2 separate regions of the Homo sapiens genome follow, and region 1 is linked to region 2. The links are contacts of gene promoters, found by promoter capture Hi-C in blood cells and fetal thymus (Javierre and others, 2016). All regions are on one chromosome and are shown on one strand. The core of a region is centred on a gene start or on the middle of the fragment in contact, and the rest is flanking DNA. Distances in the headings are between cores, read along the strand shown.

The links. The method cuts DNA at HindIII sites, captures the fragments that hold promoters and counts their contacts. A CHiCAGO score of 5 or more calls a contact.
Region 1: a fragment that was not itself captured here is called in contact with the fragment with the promoter of TMEM167A in region 2 in 3 of 17 cell types (total CD8 T cells, total B cells and naive B cells); the score reaches 9.7 in total CD8 T cells.

Annotation. Positions count from the first base shown.
Region 1 is chr5:80,402,643-80,406,698 of GRCh38, reverse strand. No RefSeq gene overlaps it. Among named protein-coding and RNA genes, the nearest start is that of ZFYVE16, 3.4 kb to the left of the region's middle. The HindIII fragment of the contact is 2,574 bases long and covers 1,502-4,056 here.
Region 2 is chr5:83,075,465-83,079,486 of GRCh38, reverse strand. TMEM167A (transmembrane protein 167A) reads left to right here and starts at 2,093. Exons shown (of 4, transcript NM_174909.5): 1 at 2,093-2,166. The coding sequence starts at 2,164. XRCC4 (X-ray repair cross complementing 4) reads right to left here and starts at 1,940. Exons shown (of 8, transcript NM_003401.5): 1 at 1,872-1,940. RefSeq lists enhancers at 1,046-2,011, 2,086-2,355, 2,012-2,977 and a silencer at 1,936-2,025. The HindIII fragment of the contact is 1,765 bases long and covers 1,110-2,874 here.

The DNA of each region.
Region 1 (4,056 bases), core at 1,539-4,038, 2.7 Mb after region 2:
TGGTGGCGGGCGCCTGTAATCCCAGCTACTTGGGAGGCTGAGGCAGGACAATCAGGACCATTGAATGAACCCAGGAGGCAGAGGTCACAGTGAGCCAAGATCGAGCCACCACACTCCAGCCTGGGTGACAGAGCAAGGCTCCGTCTCAAAAAAGAAAAAAAAAAAATTGCAAGAATTATAATTTTTCGAGTATTCCAGCCACATGTGATTTGTGATGAAAGATTTGAGAATCAGGGTTCGCATCTTAAATCTGCAGTTTACAACTATAGTTCCTGATCTTTGAAAGATACTTAATCTTTAACCTTGGTTTTCCTAAACAACAAAATGAAATAGCCAAACTTTTGATTGCCTAAAGTAATGTGTGTATTGAGCATCTGCTTTGTGACAGTGTGTTAGATGCTTTGCTTACGTTATCTCATTTAATCCTAAGAATAATTCTACAAACTACAGTATGCCTTTTTCCTACTATGTGTTAGGCATTGTTCACAGATAAAATAAAATGGGGCCACTGCCCATGGGGAACCACAGTCTAGTAGCAGAGACTCACATATACAAATGCATACTGGGGACAGAAGTATTTATACGGTAAAGTGTGAGGGTAAAGAGAATAGAAAAAAGACACAAACACCTTAAATAGATCAATGGGGAAAGTATATACAATGGTCAGTTCACAAAATATGAAATTTAAATGCCTACTACACATTTTACCAATCAATATTCAAAGTCATTAATAATAAACAGAGACAAAAAAGAGGTTGTCTGGCATCTAATTACCCAATCTGTTTAAAATGTGAATAAACTCGATTGGTGACAGAAGAGTGAAGTGGACACTTATACCCTGGGAGGGATATAAATTGGGACAAAGATTTTGGAAAGTTATTTGTCAAATCATATCAAGAACCTTATGAGTGTTCACATGACCCAATTTGATCATTTCTCTTTTGGAAGTTATAAGAAGGTAGTCCAGAAGACGAAGATCTCTATGGAAAGATACTTAACCATAGTAAGTAAATTGATAAAAGTCGAAAATCCACCATTAAGAGAATGGTTAAAATAATTACTGCATGTATGTGATTAAAACTATTAAAATTATGTTTACAAAGAATTTTTAATGGCCTGAGGAAATTACCTCATGAAAAAACATTTTAAATATTTAAAAATATTTAACATTGCCTATGTAGTATGAGGTCAGCTATAGTATACAATGTATGTAAAAGAGTGAAGAAAGTATATCAAAATGTTGATAGTAGTCATGTCTATCTGATTAGAATGTAGATGTTATTATCCTGGACAGTCTACATTTTCTACAACATCTATATATTACCTTTATATTCTGGGGAAAAAGAAAAAAACCTCTAATGTAACAAGTGTGATAAGTTGACCAGGAAACCTAAGAATCCATTTCCCCTGTCATTTCAAGTATGGTCTTTAGAGTCTGATTACCTGAATTTGAATTCTAATTCTATAACCTATTAGTTGTGTGGCCTAAATTTTCTAAGCTTGATGCTCCTGTAGTCAAATGCTAATAGAACTAATACATTGATTGAGATAATCCACATAAAGTACTTAACTGAAGCACTGACTGTAAATGATGAATAACTGTTATTCTTTTTTTTTTCTTTTTTTGACAGGATCTTACTATATCACTCAGGCTGAAATGCAGTGGTTGGATCATGGCTCACTGCAGCCCCAACTCCTGGGGCCCAAGTGATCCTCCTACCTCAGCCTCCAGAGTAGCTGGGACCACAGGCGTGCATCACCATGCCCAGATAATTTTTATTTTTATTTTTTTAAAGACAAGGTTTCACTATGTTGCCTATACTGGTCTCAAACTTCTGGGCCCAAGCAATCCTCCCAATTAGAATTCAAATTCAGGTAATCAGGTAGTCAACCTCCCAAAGTGCTGGGATTACAGACATTAGCCACTGTGCCAGCCTAACAATTGCTATTCTTGATGGTTATATTTCTTTTTATAAATTGATCAGTTACATCCATGTTGTTATATCAGTAGCCTATGAATTTGGCTAATGCAAGTATAAGTTCCCTGGAGCACAATTACTTGCAAATACATTTTAAAACTGAATTTCTTAGTCTACTAAACTGAGAATAAGATACAGGGACTTGATGACCACTCCACATGTTTGTCACTATATGAAGACTCGTTTGCTCTGTTTTTGTTTCTGTTTTTGTTTTTTAAGGAGAATTAATAAGTTTGTTCATATAAAATTTGTAGCCTTTGATTACCTTTTAATGCCAAATGTCTACTAAAAATTTAATCTGCTAACAAAGCAATTGCAATACTTTTAGTAGATGTTTAGAATTATAATAACCTTTCCTAATTATGCTTTGAAAGAGTATTTAATTTGGGTTCCACAAAACTTCTGATCTATAAAGTAGTAAAAATAGATGAAATCAACCAACAAACCAAAGTTCAAATCAATGACTACTACTTTAGCCCAATAGTTCTCTGTGGAGGTGAGGGGTGATTTTGCCTCCCAGAGGACGTTTGACAATCTCTGGAGGCATTTTTGGTTGTCACCACTGAAAGAATGCTACTGATATCTAATAGATACAGGCCAGGGATGCCGCTAACTGTCTTGCAATTCACAGGAGAACCCCCAACAACAAAGAAGTTTTCAGCCTAAAATATCAACAGTGCCAAGGTTGAGAAACCCTGATTTAGCCAGTGAGTGGTTTAAAGCTAGTATATTTCTTCCAATTCCTAGTAAACAGTTCCTTTTTTTTTTTTTTTTCTGATGACCACAGCGGCACAAATGTGAGTTCAGAAATTCAGAACTGGGTTTTGAACTTCTACATAAGGCCCTATACCAATGAAAATTAAACTTTGTACCAAGTAGTACCCAAAGTTAACTAGATTAGAGATAAAAAATCTACAATGACCAGTTTTATGGAGCAGACAGCTGGTCAGTTGTACTCTGGCACAGAAAAATGCTCCATTCCTATTGTTCAGTTGCACCAGACACACGTATCATCACTTATTACTAAGAACCACTTTATAAATAGCTGTCATTTATTGATCACCTACTGTTTTCAGCCTTTATCTTATAAGTAAACCAGGTGTTCTCGCAGTATGAACATTGTTGCTCATCCATAAACAAAACCTGAAGTTCAGGATTTCTCCCTGCTGTTATAACTACTTTGTTAAGTACAGGCTGTTATAACTACTTTGTTAAGTACAGCAACACTTACTGGTCAAGGCCTTTATCAAAACAGCAAACTGAAGAACACACTCTCAACAGCCCATTCTCCTTTTGTACAAAGTGCTATAATTTAGTATTGGTTCTTGTGAGAGAGGCTTTTCAATTCTCTAAGGAAAGTTTTAGTTGTGGTGCTCAGATAATCGCTGTAGATCCTTGTATTTAATACAGCAACTGTATTTACTTAAAGTTATAAAGTCAAAAAGCTCAAATAACCAATATTTTTTCTGAGTTCTTTAGAAATATATGACAAACAATAAATTAATGACATAGCAATGATTTGTTGATAAACATAATAAATCTTATGAGCTTTCTATATCAACAGTAAAAAAGAGGAATAACTGGTGTTTAATTCAACAAACACTTATTCATTTTTTTTTTGTTGTTTTGTTTTGTTTGGTACAGGGTTTCACTCCCATTGCCTAGACTGGAGTGTAATGGCTCGATCTCGGCTCACTGCCGCCTCAACCTCTGTGGCTCAAGTGTTTCTCCTGCCTTAGTCTCCCAAATACCTGGGACTATAGGCGCATGCTACTGCACCTGGCTAACTTTTGTATTTTTTGTAGAGGCAGGATTTCGCCATGTTGCCCATGGCTGGTCTGGAACTCCTGGGCTCAAGCCATCCACCGACCTTGGCCTCCTGAAGTGCTGGGATTAGAAGAGTGAGCCACCAAGCCCAGACAGTTTATTAAACATAATTGCATTGTTTTTCCTATTGATCTTGCAGTCATTGCAAGATCTTGCAGTGCTTTTGAATTGACAAAGAAAATAGAGATAAAGTTACATGAATTTTTAGAATTAAATTGTGTTTTATTATATTAAGGTGATTTCCTTAACC
Region 2 (4,022 bases), core at 844-3,343:
AGTAAGGAAAGGATCCAAGATGGTTTTAAATGAGGATTCACTGCAAAGCTGCCAGAAAGATTTTAGAAATTGTGATATAATCTGAAAACCAAAAAGTAGGGGGTTTATGTAAGACAATGGAGCTAAACTACCACCTCCCAAAAAAAACTCACCACGTCAGATTAACTTTGATGTTTTACATAAATGCAATAAACATTATACATATTTGTTCAGCCTCATTTATTGGCATATGTGTTTCTCTATAGATAACTTAAAAACTGGCAATGCCGTTCTTTACTGTTTTGAAGCTCAGGTACATAAGAAGTCATAGCCTAAAATTAATTAAAATATATAGATATAGCAAATCAATTGTGATCTCTAACAAGTTAAGCTTTCTGATGCTTTTCACAGGTAGCCTGAAGCAGAGCTTCATACAGAAGTATTACCTTTATATGTAACAAAGATCAAGACAATCTTCACATGAAACCAAGGGCAGTTATGTCTACAGACACATTTACTGCCCTAAAAGCCAAGCTCGATAAATTGCACAACATAATTTCCATAACTAAACCAGGTTTGTTTAATTTGAATGGCAAGACCTAAAAGGTATAATATAAAGGAATTACAAGACAGAACATTAAAAGACTTTTTTTATCCTTAGGTGGAGAGTACTGTATCTTTTAAATACCTTTCTTATTCCCCTCTCCCCCAACCTTATTAAATTCCTTAAAGGAACAGACCATCTTTGTTCCTATGCTGCAATCTGAAGATCCATGAATAAAGCAGGCACCCAGTAAATACTTGCTAATTTGTGTATTTGACCAACTCTTGACAATTCAATATAACAGACTCAAATATCAAGTTAGTTATAGTTTAAAACAAAACCTTTGTGTGCCCTAGTGAACAATGTAAACACAAATAGCAGAATCCCAAATCTTCTAATCATTGTGTTGCCCTAAATACAAAAGGGTCTCATAGGCCGAATACAGTTCATAAACCAAAATCTCACGTGAGTTACCTTCTCTCTTTCTCTCTATCCACCTTCTAAGTCCATAAAAAATTGAAAACATTCTGAAAAGAACTCTCTCCTGCCTGAGAAAAAATACACCACACATTTAGAACCAAAAGCTTGCCATAAGGGGGCAAAGAGTGAAAAACTCTCATTTCTAATACTTTATTAGAATTCCAAGAACTACGCAAATTCAAACATGTCAAAGCGCCTGTTTCTCCATCGATAAAATGCAGAAAGAAAAACGTGTGTGTGTAGTAGAACCTCACCTAATGGGATAATTAAAATCAGAAAAAGCTAAATACTACTACTGATTAAAAGTTGCCTTGTCATTTGTCTTGCCAGTTGATCTCTTTAAAGTACCTAATCAATCGCTGCAGTCCGCAAACGGCAGTTCCTTCCCATTGGTTACCACAGAAAGTTCTTTCCTGACCTCAAATTGCCTAGTACGTTTCAGCCTCGATGCCTGGTTGGAACCCACAGTTTACCAATATCTGGGGATTGAAAGGACAGGCCAGTGCTGGGGAAATGCTCAAACAGCCTACTCAACACTACCCTCTGGATTCAACCGTCCTCCCAATCCCACAACCAACACAGAGCATTTCAAAAGTGCTTCGCATTCCCAAGAATCCCTCAGATGCAAACGGAGAAACTGAAAAGGGGGTGAACAGGTCGCACCCTGAGGATAATGCCGAGAACCCTAGCATCCCCAAAAGCCCACAAGAGGAAGTCGCGGGAGCTCACAAATTGAGGGGGATTCTCGCATTGTGGAGTTCTAGGGGTAAGTAGCAGGGAACTTTTTTAAAAAGAAAGCAAAAAGATAAAAAGAACAGAACCTCAGATTTTTGTTATTTAAAGAGGCAGCCCCACTTCCGGATCCTACCTCTCCGTGACTCTACTTCCGGTATCTTCCAAAACGCCCGCTTTCACAGATCAAGGTTTTGCAACCAATGAGAGTATCAGCTACTTCCGCCGGCCTGCGGGACGTGATCTAAATCCCGCCTTTTCCGGTGGAGAGGAGCCTATCCTAGTGTCTTAACCGCCCGTCTTGGTAGGCGGTGCCGTGACAAGCCCAACCGGACGGCTGGAGAGGGCGAGAAGGGCAGACGGGACATGCAGCCTCTTCCGCCTGAGCCCCGGAAGGGTGATGTGGCTGCGGCATCGCCGGCCTCGCTATGGTAAGAAGTGGGGCTCCCAGGTCGCGGTTGATCTTCGAGAAGGGGTTGTGGATCTAGACTAGGGCTGGAGTTTGTGCGGCAGCCCGGGGTGTGTGGGCCCGGAGCTGAGAGGCCTTGGAGCCATGTGGTCCCTCCACGGCCAACCAGAGAGAATCAGGACGGACTGTCCGAGGAAGACTGCTGGGTCGGCAGCCCGCCCCTCATGCAAAGTCCGCTTTCCTACTTTGTTTAGGAAAAAAAAATGCGTTGGTGTGTTTTAACACGTTGGCTACGTAGATTATGTGTGGTCATTGACCCTTTGAAGCATTAGCGCTTCTCGAGTTTCCGCTTGTTTTGTTGCAACTCCTTATCTCGCCCTAGGGGCTTTACTCTGGTGTTATTGTTTGATTTTTGGGGGGAGTTTCTTTTGGCACCAAACTCCATACCTTCATTTTCATCTGTTTAGTCAGTAGCCTCTCAAGACCCTTCCACCTTCTTCTCTTAACTTTGAAAATGCTGCTTTACAAGCTATAGGTTTTAATAGTTAAGAGTTCTCTGCAAAGGTGGATTGCCCTTCTAGGAGCTTAATGTACTTATTGGAGTGGTGTCTAGCCTCAGGCCTTCCTCCTCTTTTACCTCCAGGTCCATGTGCCAAATGTTATGTATATTTCTGGACAAAGGATGCATGCCTGCAAATAGACCCAAAAACAACTATGACTCCAAAAAGCTTGAGTCTCCATGGTGAAAAATTATGAGCCTATGTTCACAGAAGTTGCTGCAGAATCCCATATAGCAATAATTCATTTTCTTCTCTGGACGAATTTACCACCTGGTGGGAAGATGGCAGTTGAGACTAGGAAGACTGCCACTCTTAATTCTTATACATCTTTCTAGAAACTGAAGTTGAATTCTTCTACTCGTAGTGCAAGTCAAAGATAACTCTTTTTATTATCTCACTGTCAGACTAGCTAAAAATAAGATGCATATACTGTGCTTAAGATCAACAGTATATAAACTATCTTGTCATGCTTGTTTTTCCAAAAGTAGCAAATGCTTTCATTTATTATCACGTCCTATGTACCAGGCTCTTTTCAAAAAATCAGTTTATAAGCATGGAAATATCAAGTTCACAGCAACTTCTGAATAGATGTTTACAAGTGAAAGAAGTGAAACATGAAGAGACTGACTTGCCTCGGATCACACCTAGTAGATTGTAAAGCCAGTACTCAAACTTATTTTAATGTCCAGGTCCCCGAAATCTTCATGCTGTTATCGATAGAAACACAACATAACTAAGGATGAAATAAGACTTAGTGATTTGTTTCTTATAAATATAAGTACATAAATTAGACATAGGTGGAAAACGGAAACAACTGGCAGGTGGTTTTTTATTCCTGTGAGCTTGGGATGTCAAAAGTACATTGTTTGCAGAGCTACGAAGTGAGGTTTCAAGAAGGCTAACTTAGCAGCTTAAGAAATGGATTAGTGTCTCAGTATCTTTGAGTTCGCATCTAAACTTAGTTTATTTGTGAGGTAACCCAATGGTAATGACTTAATAAACCTGAATTACTGTATTTTAATGATTTTTTTTTTTTTTGAGATGGAGTCTCCCTCTGTTGCCCAGGCTGGAGTGCAGTGGCATAATCTCAGCTCACTGCAACCTCTGCTTCCTGGGTTCAAGCAATTCTCCTGCCTCAGCCTCCCGAGTAGCTGGGACTACAGGCGTGCACAACCACGCCTGGCTAATTTTTGTATTTTTAGTAGAGACGAGGTTTCACCATGTTGGCCAAGATGGTCTCGATCTCTTGACCTCGTGATCCTCCCACCTCAGCCTCCCAAAGTGCTGGGATTACAGGCGTGAGCCACCGTCCCCAGCC